Linked DNA regions of Homo sapiens: regions 2 and 3 are each linked to region 1. The links are contacts of gene promoters, found by promoter capture Hi-C in blood cells and fetal thymus (Javierre and others, 2016). All regions are on one chromosome and are shown on one strand. Each heading gives the region's core, a stretch centred on a gene start or on the middle of the fragment in contact. The rest is flanking DNA. Distances are from core to core; before and after follow the strand shown.

What was found. Contacts are between HindIII fragments. The CHiCAGO score rates a contact against its expected background, and 5 or more counts as called.
Region 2: a fragment that was not itself captured here is called in contact with the fragment with the promoter of SRY in region 1 in 6 of 17 cell types (activated CD4 T cells, total CD8 T cells, M1 macrophages and 3 more); the score reaches 9.0 in activated CD4 T cells.
Region 3: a fragment that was not itself captured here is called in contact with the fragment with the promoter of SRY in region 1 in 10 of 17 cell types (M1 macrophages, total CD8 T cells, naive CD4 T cells and 7 more); the score reaches 11.9 in M1 macrophages.

Annotation. Positions count from the first base shown.
Region 1 is chrY:2,785,738-2,790,413 of GRCh38, forward strand. SRY (sex determining region Y) reads right to left here and starts at 1,945. Exons shown (of 1, transcript NM_003140.3): 1 at 1,118-1,945. The coding sequence starts at 1,866. The coding sequence ends at 1,252. It also overlaps the pseudogene RNASEH2CP1. RefSeq lists promoters at 1,867-4,676, 1,963-3,937, 1,963-2,276. The HindIII fragment of the contact is 2,145 bases long and covers 127-2,271 here.
Region 2 is chrY:2,976,570-2,981,245 of GRCh38, forward strand. It overlaps ZFY (zinc finger protein Y-linked), which reads left to right. Exons shown (of 8, transcript NM_003411.4): 6 at 101-253; 7 at 1,371-1,511; 8 at 2,241-4,676. The coding sequence ends at 3,424. The region is part of intron 2 of ZFY-AS1 (ZFY antisense RNA 1); the gene reads right to left. Among named protein-coding and RNA genes, the nearest start is that of ZFY-AS1, 24 kb to the right of the region's middle. The HindIII fragment of the contact is 276 bases long and covers 1,894-2,169 here.
Region 3 is chrY:2,948,341-2,953,016 of GRCh38, forward strand. All of the region lies in intron 1 of ZFY (zinc finger protein Y-linked), which reads left to right. Among named protein-coding and RNA genes, the nearest start is that of ZFY, 15 kb to the left of the region's middle. The HindIII fragment of the contact is 878 bases long and covers 2,229-3,106 here.

The sequences.
Region 1 (4,676 bases), core at 695-3,194:
GGAGAGTGAAAAGAGTGGTTTTAAATATTACAAAGTAGTTTTGAGTCAGTGTTTAAAAGGTAATGGGCAATATACAGTTCTCATTTGGCATAAAGCTCAGATTAAGTAATATTGTCTCTGGAATAAAGCTTTTTTTAAACCCTGAACTTTGAGAAACATGACATCCATCTCTAATATACACTCTTTTAGTGTTTGAGTTTTATTATTTAAGGTAATGTCTCTGAAAAGTTTTGAAATATTGGAAAGCTGACTTTGATACATACCATTAATTTTGACTTTTGATTTATTTTTATTGTAGAAAAATTTATTTGTAATTTATACTTTAAACTGTGGTTTACAGTTATTTGTAAACTTCTAGTTTCCTGCTTTAGCTTATGTGCAAATTTTATGAAGTCTTGGCATTACATTTTTATTTAAATCCCATCAAATTAAACCAGTTGGGTCACCAGCCCCCGCCCTTCCATCTCCATAATCTGGGTAGTCGGCGTTCTCAACATTCCTGTTGAGAATGAAAATTCTGTATTTTTCATTCCACAGGCTTAAAAGTTAATAGGCCATGGAAACAAGTAGATTGCCATTTTAAAAGATAGTTTTCAGAAGAAAGGCAAAATGATAAGTTTCATAGAGATACAAAAATGACAAGGAATTAAATATTTTGTTTTACCAGAGGCATTTTATAACTAGTTGAAAGGAAATGTCAACCGTTTGGATTTATATGGAGTAAAGGAACTGAATTGCAAGTGGAGGTAAAACTGGTTTTTTCCACAGCGTGAAGGGGAGAGAAAGAAACAAGTTTGATCCTGCTTACATATCCATTCCTTAGTTACCTGCAATTTATAGACACGTACAAAGTAGCTGAAAGACCAATGAATACACGGTCTAGAGAGGACTGCTTAACACGCTGCATATAGAAGTGTGATTTTTTTTGGTACAATTTTCAAGTGTGTTTCTCATTAGAGCATTTAAAGTAAGCCACAGTGTCCGTTTGTATCAAGTTAGTACTCTGACGGCCACAAACATAGGCAGGCTCACTTCTGGATGTCTTATTTCTTTGCATGTTAATCGTGTTGACACAACTTGTCTTGAAATTAAGTTTAAAATGAAATACCAGTAAAACTGAAATGAATAAGGCCTTTATTAGCCAGAGAAAAGAAAACAATATTGAAACTAAACATAAGAAAGTGAGGGCTGTAAGTTATCGTAAAAAGGAGCATCTAGGTAGGTCTTTGTAGCCAATGTTACCCGATTGTCCTACAGCTTTGTCCAGTGGCTGTAGCGGTCCCGTTGCTGCGGTGAGCTGGCTGCGTTGATGGGCGGTAAGTGGCCTAGCTGGTGCTCCATTCTTGAGTGTGTGGCTTTCGTACAGTCATCCCTGTACAACCTGTTGTCCAGTTGCACTTCGCTGCAGAGTACCGAAGCGGGATCTGCGGGAAGCAAACTGCAATTCTTCGGCAGCATCTTCGCCTTCCGACGAGGTCGATACTTATAATTCGGGTATTTCTCTCTGTGCATGGCCTGTAATTTCTGTGCCTCCTGGAAGAATGGCCATTTTTCGGCTTCAGTAAGCATTTTCCACTGGTATCCCAGCTGCTTGCTGATCTCTGAGTTTCGCATTCTGGGATTCTCTAGAGCCATCTTGCGCCTCTGATCGCGAGACCACACGATGAATGCGTTCATGGGTCGCTTCACTCTATCCTGGACGTTGCCTTTACTGTTTTCTCCCGTTTCACACTGATACTTAGAGTTACAGCTTTCAGTGCAAAGGAAGGAAGAGCTTCTCCGGAGAGCGGGAATATTCTCTTGCACAGCTGGACTGTAATCATCGCTGTTGAATACGCTTAACATAGCAGAAGCATATGATTGCATTGTCAAAAACAAGGAGAGTGCGACAAAATTGAAAGGTGCCAGAGTTCGAAACTTATTTTACTATCCAAAACTCACTTCTACCAGATTCTTTGTTACGTTAACTTTTGTAATGAAACTTGCATTTCTCCGCCCTCAACACCCCCTCAACCCCGCCCAACCAGCCTACCCCCTAGTACCCTGACAATGTATTCATTCTCAAGCAAAACATGGTAATTCAGTAACGTTGACTACTTGCCCTGCTGATCTGCCTCCCTGACTGCTCTACTGCTGTCCTGAAAAATGCGAATTTGACTTAATCGCCAATTTTTTCATTGACCTTTTATGTCACAAAACGAGAGGACACAAAAAGCTATATGAATTGTTTATCATTATCAATATATGTGTATGTTATCTTTAAAAAAACAAAGCTTAATGAGAACCTAATTGTCTTAACCACACACATACATACATAACTGCATATTGAATTTATAGTAATTATTATCGCTTTTTCTTCACTTCTATTTAAAAATTGAAAATTCTATACACATTTTTCACAGGCATTAAGTATCAGAATATTAGCATATACTTACAAGTATTTTATGCCCAACTTCTAGGATGGCTAACATTTGACTTTTAGAAAAGTAATTGTTTCGTTTAGAGAAAAAAAAATATGACCTAAGAACTCAAAACAGTTTCAGTGAAGTGTTAAGCTACACTAAAAAGGGGACACAATTCTTTTCTTTGCAGATTGTATAGTGGGATATTTTGAAGTCATTCTCTTCACTGTCACACAATTAGCAATTTAAAAAACAATCTTTTACAAGTCTAAATTAAATTTCCATTCACAACAAATAGAGCCATCAATTTATCATATTTCACCTTTTAGTTCAACCTCCTTCAAAATTTAAAGGTCACAGTTTACCAGACTAAACAAGTGAATAACTCTCCTCAATAAATCTTAAAGTCTGAAGAGAAATGACAAGATTTCTTTGCTGAAATAAAATGGGAGGAAAGTCCCCCCACTCACCAATGTTTTAATGCCATATTTGCAAAACAGGAGTAACAACTACAGGTTGCATAGTACACAGAACCTATTAATAAAAATAAACTCTCAGCAAAACTGAATGATGCCACAATTCCTAAGACAACAAAATAAAAATCCCGTAAAATATGAAAAGAGTTCATAGAACCAAATGTGGTTGGTTTGTCCAGTAAATGTTATAATGAATTAATATCAGAAACTTTAAAAAATTATATTCCATGAAAAGAAAAATATGAAAACTGTAATTTGTATCCTAGTTATCTACTAAAGTTTAGTATCTAAGATACAAAATTTAGTATTCATTATACAAAGTGGAAATATAGTTGGCTCAAGTTAAAACATGTATCTGGATAGCAAATAAAATGGTTAAATTGCAGTCATACACAGAAACAGATTTTCTACAACAGGAAATCCCTTACAAGATGAGAAAAAACATACCATTTCAAAACCTGACATGAAAATAGCAAAAAATGACACAAGGCACCACATAGGTGAACCTTGAAAATGTTACACTGTGTGAAAAAGTCAGATACAAGAGGCCAGATACTGAATGATCCCATGTATATGAAATATCCAGGAAAGGCAAATGAATAGAGACTAAAACCAGATTAATGGTTGCTAAGGACTGGATGAAAGAGGTTGTGGGGAGTTACTGCTGGTGGATGCACGGTTTCTTTTGAGGATTGATAAAATATGCTCTGGAACTAGAGAGAGGTGATGGCTGCACAACATGGTGAACCAAAGAGTCAGAGAAACTGAAGTCCAAATAAGGAGTTTGTTGGCAGTTTTAGAACTGTAATTAGAGAAACAGATTCCAGAAGCATCTGACATTGTGTCGTGACCGGCTGTTTTGAGAGACAGTTTTTAAAGGAAATAAGAGAAAGTTGGTACTCATTAGGTTACTTACAACCTATTATCTTAATTGGTAATGAAGGGTTATCTTAACAGTTCATGAGTTTCTACGCAAAAGTCCTTGAATCAGTGGTTTGGGTAAAAAGTCAGTTTTCACTATGAAGTCTTTTAATAAGTGGCAGCAATTTTTGTCTGCAGAATCTGCAAGTACATTTTGCAGTCAGGCAGTTGCAAGATGGGTTTCAAAAACAAAATGTTGTTGCTATGGTTAGGTCTTGTTGCCTTCGTTCCCCGGTACTACTGAATCGTCCAGTTTAAGAGGGATAAAGTGGCGTCGCACAGGAGCGAGGATGGAGAGCGGCGACTAGGCGGCTATGGAGAGGTACAGCGTCCAGTTGCGCCCAGCCACACTGCAGGACGCCGCCCCCGCCACACTACACCTGATACCCTGCGGCCCACCACGGTGTGGCGCTTCATCACGCCTGCCATCCGCCAGGGCCCCGAGGGACTCTTAAGTGTAGTTTCGGGGCCGCAGTCTACGGGGCGACGAGGTGGCAGTGCCGTCCGGCCTCGTGGGATACGTGATGGTGACTGAACAGGAGGAGGTGTCGATGGGGAAGCCAGACCCCTGGCGGGGTTCCGGGAGTGACAACCAAGAAGAGGAACCTCTGGAGCGGGACTTTGACCGCTTCCTCGGAACCACTACCAGCTTCAGCCGCTTCACCCTGTAGGGCATGGGGCTTCACCCTGTGGGGCACCCTGTGGGGCTTCCTTGGCCCGGAAGCCAAACTGCGTGGGGCCTTAACTTGGCCCAGCCTCGCGGCAACGATTCACGCGCAGGTGCCCAAGGACACAGAACCAGAGCTTGAAATTCAAAGCCGCGAACCCTTTACAGCAGTAAACCAGCTCCTTACTTTGTAGCCACTGGTTCCATCAC
Region 2 (4,676 bases), core at 782-3,281, 190 kb after region 1:
AATAATTCAACCAATGTTTATTTTTTCCTACTAATGAATTTTTTCTGTGTGATCTCTGTAAACCTAGTCACAAAAAATTTTTTATTTATTTTGTGCTTAGATGTTGCTGAAATTGCTGATGAAGTTTATATGGAAGTGATCGTAGGAGAGGAGGATGCTGCTGTTGCAGCAGCAGCAGCTGCTGTGCATGAGCAGCAAATTGATGAGGATGAAATGAAAACCTTCGTACCAATTGCATGGGCAGCAGCTTATGGTAACTTACATAGAAGCCAGAAGGATTGAGTAGTTTTTGAACATTAATTCACTGTTGAAAGTGGTTTCTGTTGGCCAGGCGTGGTGGCTCATGTCTGTAATCCCAGCACTTTGGGAGGCTGAGGCAGGCGGATCACGAGGTCAGGAGATTGAGACCATCCTGGCTAACATGGTGAAACCCTGTCTCTACTAAAAAATATTTTTAAAAAATTAGCCAGACGTGGTGGCAGGCACCTGTAATCCCAGCTACTGAGGAGGCTGAGGCAGGAGAATGGCGTGAACCTGGGAGGTGGAGCTTGCAGTGAGCTGAGATTGCGCCACTGCACTCCAGCCTGGGCAGCAGAGCAAGACTCCATCTCAAAAAAAAAAAAAAAAAAAAAAAAAAAAAAAAAAAAAAGGGTTTTTTTTAGGGTTTCATGATTTAAGCAAAAGTAGAGGAGGATTAAATAGTCTCCCTGTTGCCTTTAATTTTAACATGAACTTCTTTTATTATGTAAGAAGTGTGGGAGCTTTCAGTCTAACATTTTAAATCTTGGTTTATAGGTGACACATAACTTTACAATTTTTGGGAGATAGCAGGGAGTCCAGTAGAGCAGCATGCTGCTAGATACGGAAGCTAGGCACTTCCCCTGGTCTTGCCATATATATGCCCATAAAACACATGGTCTACAATTGGGGGCCAGGTGTGGCTCTTGCCTGTAATCCCAGCACTTTGGGAGTCTGAGGCAGGTGGATGACCTGAGGTCAGGAGTTCAAGATCAGCCTGGCCAATATGGTGAAACCTCCTCTCTACTAAAAATACAAAAAAATGAGATGGGTGTGATGGCGTTGTTCCTGTAATCCCAGCTATTCAGGATGCTGAGGCAGGATAATCACTTGAACCTGAGAGGAGGAGGTTGCAGTGAGCCAAGATTACACCTCTGTACTCCAGCCTGGGTGACAGAGCAAGACTCTGTCTCAAAAAAAAAAAAAAAAAAAAAAAAAAAAGAATAAAAATAAATAAAGTAAGGACTTTCTGTCATTCATGAGTGTCAGGACTTCTTGTTGTTAATAAAGAATTCGTAATTCTTTAGAATTTATAATGTTGTGTAATTCTGTGTTTTAATGCACATTGTTAGGTAATAATTCTGATGGAATTGAAAACCGGAATGGCACTGCAAGTGCCCTCTTGCACATAGATGAGTCTGCTGGCCTTGGCAGACTGGCTAAACAGAAACCAAAGAAAAAGAGAAGACCTGATTCCAGGCAGTACCAAACAGGTGAGTTCCACAGGGGTGTTATGATGGAGTTTTAGCTAGTAGGCCACATGTATTTTTATGTGTTGAATTTGAAAGAAAAAATTTCAAAATTCAGTGATATTCATGAATGGTTTTCTTGGATAAGAAGAAACAGTTGTGCATCAACCATTCAGGAAAAAGAATTAAAATCCTCTGGTGATTTTAGTGAAAAGGAAAATAAATTTCTAAAATGTTACCTAACTTTAAGTGAACGAAATTACATGGATCTACTTATACTAGCATAAAGCAGGTATAATTTACCGAGAAGTGGAAGAAGTACCTAGGTTATTTGTAGGACTGATTACTATCCTATGTTGTTTTGAATGCTGCTTTGCATATTAAAATTTATTTATAGGTGCAGTTAAGCTTTACTGTTTGCATATATTTGGCTTGGAGTCAGTCACCAAAGCAGAAATGCTGGACTTGATTTTTATGAGTTATTTGCTACACATTTCTAAATTCATGTTCTTTTGTCACTGCTTGATTGATTTTTTTTTTTTAACTGGAGGGGGTGAGATTGGTTCATACTTAACCAAACCAGTTCTCTCGATTAGGACATTATTATAACTCTTAACATTGAAAAGCAGTAAAAGGAATGTTAATAATTTAAAAGTATTTGCCCACTAATGTTCAGAACACAAGCTTTAAAAAATTCATGAGGAGACCAGAAGTTTGATTAAGCACTCATACTGCTTTCTTTTCCTTTCTTAGCAATAATTATTGGCCCTGATGGTCATCCTTTGACTGTCTATCCTTGCATGATTTGTGGGAAGAAGTTTAAGTCGAGGGGTTTTTTGAAAAGACACATGAAAAACCATCCTGAACACCTTGCCAAGAAGAAGTACCACTGTACTGACTGTGATTACACTACCAATAAGAAGATAAGTTTACATAACCACCTGGAGAGCCACAAGCTGACCAGCAAGGCAGAGAAGGCCATTGAATGTGATGAGTGTGGGAAGCATTTTTCTCATGCAGGGGCTTTGTTTACTCACAAAATGGTGCATAAGGAAAAAGGGGCCAACAAAATGCACAAGTGTAAATTCTGTGAATATGAGACAGCTGAACAGGGGTTATTGAATCGCCACCTCTTGGCAGTCCACAGCAAGAACTTTCCTCATATTTGTGTGGAGTGTGGTAAAGGTTTCCGACACCCGTCGGAACTGAGAAAGCACATGCGAATCCATACCGGCGAGAAGCCATACCAATGCCAGTACTGTGAATATAGGTCTGCAGACTCTTCTAACTTGAAAACACATATAAAAACAAAGCATAGTAAAGAGATGCCATTCAAGTGTGACATTTGTCTTCTGACTTTCTCAGATACCAAAGAAGTGCAGCAACATACTCTTGTCCACCAAGAAAGCAAAACACATCAGTGTTTGCATTGCGACCACAAGAGTTCAAACTCAAGTGATTTGAAACGACATGTAATTTCAGTTCATACGAAAGACTATCCTCATAAGTGTGAGATGTGCGAGAAAGGCTTTCACAGGCCTTCAGAACTTAAGAAACATGTGGCTGTCCACAAAGGTAAAAAAATGCACCAATGTAGACATTGTGACTTTAAGATTGCAGACCCATTTGTTCTAAGTCGCCATATTCTCTCAGTTCACACAAAGGATCTTCCATTTAGGTGTAAGAGATGTAGAAAGGGATTTAGGCAACAAAATGAGCTTAAAAAGCATATGAAGACACACAGTGGCAGGAAAGTATATCAGTGTGAGTACTGTGAGTATAGCACTACAGATGCCTCAGGCTTTAAACGGCACGTTATTTCCATTCATACAAAAGACTATCCTCATCGGTGTGAGTACTGCAAGAAAGGCTTCCGAAGACCTTCAGAAAAGAACCAGCACATAATGAGACACCATAAAGAAGTTGGTCTGCCCTAACAGTGTGTCTACAAGCTTGTAAAGATGTTGGCCTTGAAGCAGAAAATTCATTTTTTAAAGCCAGTCTTGTTCACATCCATTACTATACATTGAATTATGCTGTGTAAAAATAGAATTATTGCTTCTAGTCCACTTTTCTTTACATTTTATTCAATACGCTGTCCTGAATCCTATTCAGTTTCTTTAATAGATGAGGAAAAATAGCAACAAGCAAGTTGCTTATAATAAAATAATTTGTGATTCTATACTGAATTTTCAGTCATAAAAGCTTTACTATTTATTTACATATTTATTCATGTTCATGGTACTCTTCTAAGACAAAATCAGATTGATAACTATGAAAGTAACATTTTTGACCCATTTCCTCCTACACAAGTGTTTCACATTGGAGACATCTGCTAATATAAATGGGAGGTTTTACTGTCAAGTCCAATTAGCAAAACGTGGTAATAATTTTTTTGTCAGTATTTTCAGATTACATGATAAAATTTTACATTTGAGCTTCTAGCATTGATTAATATAGGATATTGACCACGTTTATGTTTAAATTTCATTTTGTTCAGCAGACAAAATGTACTTCCCTTAACTTTCATTAATAGTGTTTACATCTTTTGTCAGCACAGCAAACTTTTAGAAAGTAATAGTTTTACTTATTTTTATCTTCTGTTTTCTCTTTGTACTGCTTTGTCTTGCATTGTGTTCCAACACATGAGACTTACTGCTCACTGAATTTTGGAGTCTTTTAGAGGTAAATTGTGGACTCAGGATTTTTTGAAACTTGGTGTGTAACTCTAAATCTTGTATATGCATCTTTGTTGCTTATTACATATTTACACACACAACCACAAATTTTAAACTTATGATGAAAATTTACAATAACCTGAAAGATCCAGAGATGTATGAGAGCATTTTGTAACTTGTTATTCAGTTACTAAATTTGAGGTGAATAATTAAAAAGAAAAGGACATTAGGAGAGTGAAAATCTTCTCTTCAAATAATCTTTGATAGATAAAAATGGAAGGTAAGATGTTTCTAGATAGAATGTTTTCATACAATTTCAGCTTCATATCATAAATTTTTCTGGAAAGCTATTTCAGACATAGATTTCATAGTATTTTTCTGAGAATCCTGTGAAGGAACGCTGTCTCTTTGCAAAGTAAGGAGGACTAAGGGAAAATGATGGTACCATGTAACAGAATGAGAGCTAATTCCAAATTAGCAACTTCATCCTGCTTTCTATTTTACATTGAGT
Region 3 (4,676 bases), core at 1,418-3,917, 160 kb after region 1:
ACAAAGGGCTTAACAGATTTTTGCATCTAACAAATTATGCCACCTTTTAAAAATGGGTGAAGTTAGAATAAATTAAAACAAACATGGATACAAGTTAAAAAGACTAACATTTGACTTTTATTTCTGACTTTATTAAAGAAGCCTATAGCAGGCTAACATCCAGTGCTTTGAAGTAAATGTAATGAAACAATCTTTCTCACATATTCATATATTAAATCTAAGAGGACCTAAATTAAAGAATAGATATGGAGTAGAAAAGTTAATATTTTAAAGATGCTATTTCTTTTCAGATTGATCAGTGTAGATTGATGCAGTTCCAATCAAAATCTGATGGGGTTGCTTAAAAAATTTAAATATATGATGGATAAATAGAAGTATAACAATAGATCACATAACATTATCAACACGCATAACATCACATCAGTGAGATGAAACTTGATAGAGAGATGTATGAAATGCACAAGCAGACTTTCCAGAAAAAACACATTGGATATAAATGTTTGTTTGTTTTCAGTAAGGGGGTTAGAAGTTATTATTACTTTTTCTTTTTTTGAGACAGGGTATTAAAAAGCTTCATAGCTTACTGCAAGCTCAAACTCCTAGGCTCAAGCCATTCTCTCTCCTCATCCTTCTTGATGGCTGGGACTACAGGGGTGTGCCACCACACCCAACTAATTTTTTTTTTTTTAGTAGAGAAAGAGTTTCACTCTGTCGCCCAAGCTGGTATTGAACTCCTGGCCTCAAACGATCCTCTTGCCTTTGCTATTTCAAGTGTGAGCCACCATGCACAGTCACATTTTTTTTTTCCTTTTTTTGAGACAGTTTAGTTCTGTTGCCCAGGCTGGAGTACAGTGACAAGATTATGGCTCACTGCAGCCTCAACCTCCTGGGCTCAAGCAGTTCTCCCTCCTCAAACCCCAGATAACTGACTACAGGTACCCACTATCATGATTGGCTAATTTTTGTATTGTTTGTAAAGATGGGGTTTCACCATGTTGGCCAGGCTGGGTTTAAATTCCTGGGTTCAAGCATTCCACCTGCCTTAGCGTCCCAGAGTGCTAGGATTACTGGGGTGAGCCACGGCACCCAACCTGGCCAAAAAATTAAAGTCTGTGATGCTTATTAGTTTTTGGGAAATAGGCACTCTTACATTACTTGTGAAAGCTAATAAATTTTCAAGAGCCTTTATCGAGATTATTTTAGCAATATTGCTGGCTGTGATGGCTTACATTTATAATCCCAGCACTTTGGAGGCAGAGACAGGCAGTTACCTTGAGGCCAGGAGTGAAAGACCAGCTTGGTCAATGTACTGAGACCCTCATGTCTACAAAAAAAAAAAAAAAAAAAAAAAAAAAAAAGATTACCCAGGCATGTTGGTAAGTGCCTGTAGTCTCAGCTACTCTGGAGACTGAGATGAGAGGATCGCTTGAGCGTGGGAGGTCGAGGCGGTAGTGAGTCATGGTCACACCACTGCACTCCATCCTGGGTGACAGAGCAAGACCCTGTCTCAAAAAAAAAGAACACCAAAAAAACCCATATATATACACATACACACACAAACACACACTCATATATATGTTTGTAGAATGGTTTTCTACTTTACATTGCTTTATTTCTCCTTTTTTGGTTTACTAGCTATTAGTTGTTTTCTCATCTTCATACCACTGTAGCTAGGACTGAAGGCATGCACCACCACATCTGGCTAATTTTGCAGTTTTTTATAGAGACATTGTCTTGCTCTGTCACCCAGGCTGGAGTGCAGTGGTGTAATCATAGCTCACTGTCATGGCTACGTGACCTCTCAGGCTCCAATGATCCTTCCTACCTCAGCTTCCCAAGTAGCTGGGACCACAGGTGCACCACGACGTCCAGCTAATTTTTAATTTTTTTTGTAGAGAAGGGATCCAACTATTTGCCTAGACTTGTCTAGAACTCCTGGACTCCAGTGATCCCCCTCCCGTGGTCCCTCAAAATGCTGGGATTACAGGATTAAGCCACCACACCAGGCCTAAATTATTTTTCAGAGTGGATCCTCTGGATCATTCTGCTTATTTGTCTTCCAATTCAGCTGATCTCTAAGCTTGGTTCTTACTACAAAGGCATGGGAAATTACTGTGAAATCATGGGAACTTATTTTTCACCTTATCAAAATTGTGTTAATATTATTACCATTAAGAGCATGGTTTTGTTCTGGTTGTAGGAAGAAATTGGCATTTGTAACCCAAGAAAGCTTACTAACGTAAAGGTGTGGTCATCTTTACAGTGAAGTGCAAAAGAACCTCTTGTGCCTCTGTCAGTTTTCGCCGTGATAAAATAGGACAATAATCAGTCAAATGTGTTGTTGAAGAATGATTGCTCACTATAGTGAAGATTGGATTGGTGGTCAGCCCTTATCATAGGCTCAAGTACATAGTAGGGATATGTATATGACGTAAAATTATACTTAACCCTCTTTCATTCAAGATTTTGAGTTTGTAGGTGTTGTGCTGAATAGAGTCCTAGAATGTAGCAGTTCGTGGTTGGTTTCTCACTTGTTTGAGCTCTTTTCTCTTTATTGCCTGTTTCAGAATGATTAAACCAGAATTTAGCTATCTGTGGCACAGATGTTTGGTTACATACATGAGACACTAGCACTATGTCCCTAGGTCACTGATAGTGACATTTTCCTGCATTTATAAATATTTGTAAATATTAGCAGTTATTGACCCTGCTAATGACAGTTGACTAGGTATAGCTCCACTTTTTCAAGACCTCACCTCCTAGAAAATTCTAGGATGTTGAGTGCCAGGGTAAAAACATAAAGATCGTTTGAAGAATGACATGCTGTCCAGCTAGGTTGCAAAGTTGAGTAATAACAGTAAATAAGTCATGTGGTAGCTTGGGTTAATAATGTGGAGGTCACTGAATATTGGAGACTGCTTCTTGGTAAGGGAGTGATCAAAGCAGTGCTTCAAGAAGATTCATCTGGCTACAGATTGTAGGAATGCCTTGTTAGTTGGCATTACAAGACCCCCTTCTTATAATAGGTTTCCTAGTCATTTGTTTTGGAAGTGTTACAAAGGCCATTTCAGAAACTATTTTCATTTCTAGGGATCAGAAAATAGGAAGCTTAGAGTGATTGGTGATAATGGGAATACAAGCAGGGCAAACATAACAGAGAAATTGTGGAGAAGAAATTGACAAGATCTGAGAAACCAACTGTCAGGGAAGGAGGAAAAGGCCATAGTGATTGTGCCAGGAAAAATCTGGGTTTTAATTTTTGAAGATGTTCAGTAAACGGTCTGATGGAAATTTTAGGTCCTTCTCAGCGTGTGGATTTTGGGGATCATCTTCACGTAAGTCGTCATTAAAAACTGTGGAAATAAATGAGAAAGTAGTAGAGAGGAAAGCTGAATGTGAAACCTTGGACAAGACTATAGTAGCCATCGGTTAAGAAGGTGAGAAGAGAACTAAGATATCATATAAACAAAGAGGTAGGAGGGAGTTTCAAAATTAAAGAAACTGATCATCTATCAGACTCTAACAGACAGGTAAGGAAGATGAATACCTGAAACAGGAAAATTACGCTACAAGTTGATCTTTTTTTTTTTTTTTTTGAGATGGAGTCTCGCTCTGTCGCCCAGGCTGGAGTGCAGTGGCACGATCTCGGCCCACTGCGAGCTCCGTCTCCCGGGTTCACACCATTCTCCTGCCTCAGCCTTCCGAGTAGCTGGGACTACAGATGCCCGTCACAGTGCCCGGCTAATTTTTTGTATTTTTAGTAGAGACAGGGTTTCACTGTCTGTACTGTCAAGACACCAGGTGGTCTTGATCTCCTGACCTTGTGATCCACCTGCCTCAGCTTCCTAAAGTCCTGGGATTACAGGCGTGAGCCACCATGCCTGGCCCACAAGTTGATCTTTTATTAGAACTAATGAAATTGCTGTTTTTAGGAAAATTGGAAGGTCACTTCAATAATCCAACAAATCACATTTATTCCATCATTCATTGCCTTAATTTCATGTGGTTTTCTTTAATTATGCAGAGAAGATTAGTTTGCATTTATAATTTTATAATTACATTTTTTTAAGAGGGGAAAAATTAATGAAGCCAGAGATTGTTTGGGTAGAGGGAGCAGTGACAGCTTATTTAGAGCAGGTGCCCTTTTTCTTTTTCTGTGGTTGACAAAATATTAGTGTAGTCATCATGGCCTTTTTATTTGAAGCAGTTTGAATGTCATAAAACACACTTTCTTTAAATTGAGTAGATCTGTTTCAGAGAAACACTTTGGAAATCCATTGGTTTCTCACTTGCATATTGCCTTATCATATAGTTTAATATTTGAAAATTGACACACATAAGTGACCATAGCATGTGCTAAAAATACAGTAAGGGAGCTGGACATAGTGGCATGTGTCATTAGTCCTAGCTGCTTGGGAGGCTGAAGTAAGAGGATTACTTGAGCCTAGGAGTTGGAGGCTGCAGTGAGCCATGATCATGCCACTGCACTCCAGTCTGGGTGACAGGGTGAGACCCTGTCTCTGAGGGGAGAGAATGGGGAGGGCTTTTAAGCTACACAGAAATCTGAGGAGTGCTTATAATTATTAGGAATTTTGAGTTTTTTACCATTTTGTTAATTTACTGTAGAAAGACTGGAGACTATGTTAAATATAGAGATGTAATACAGTCTTGCAGCA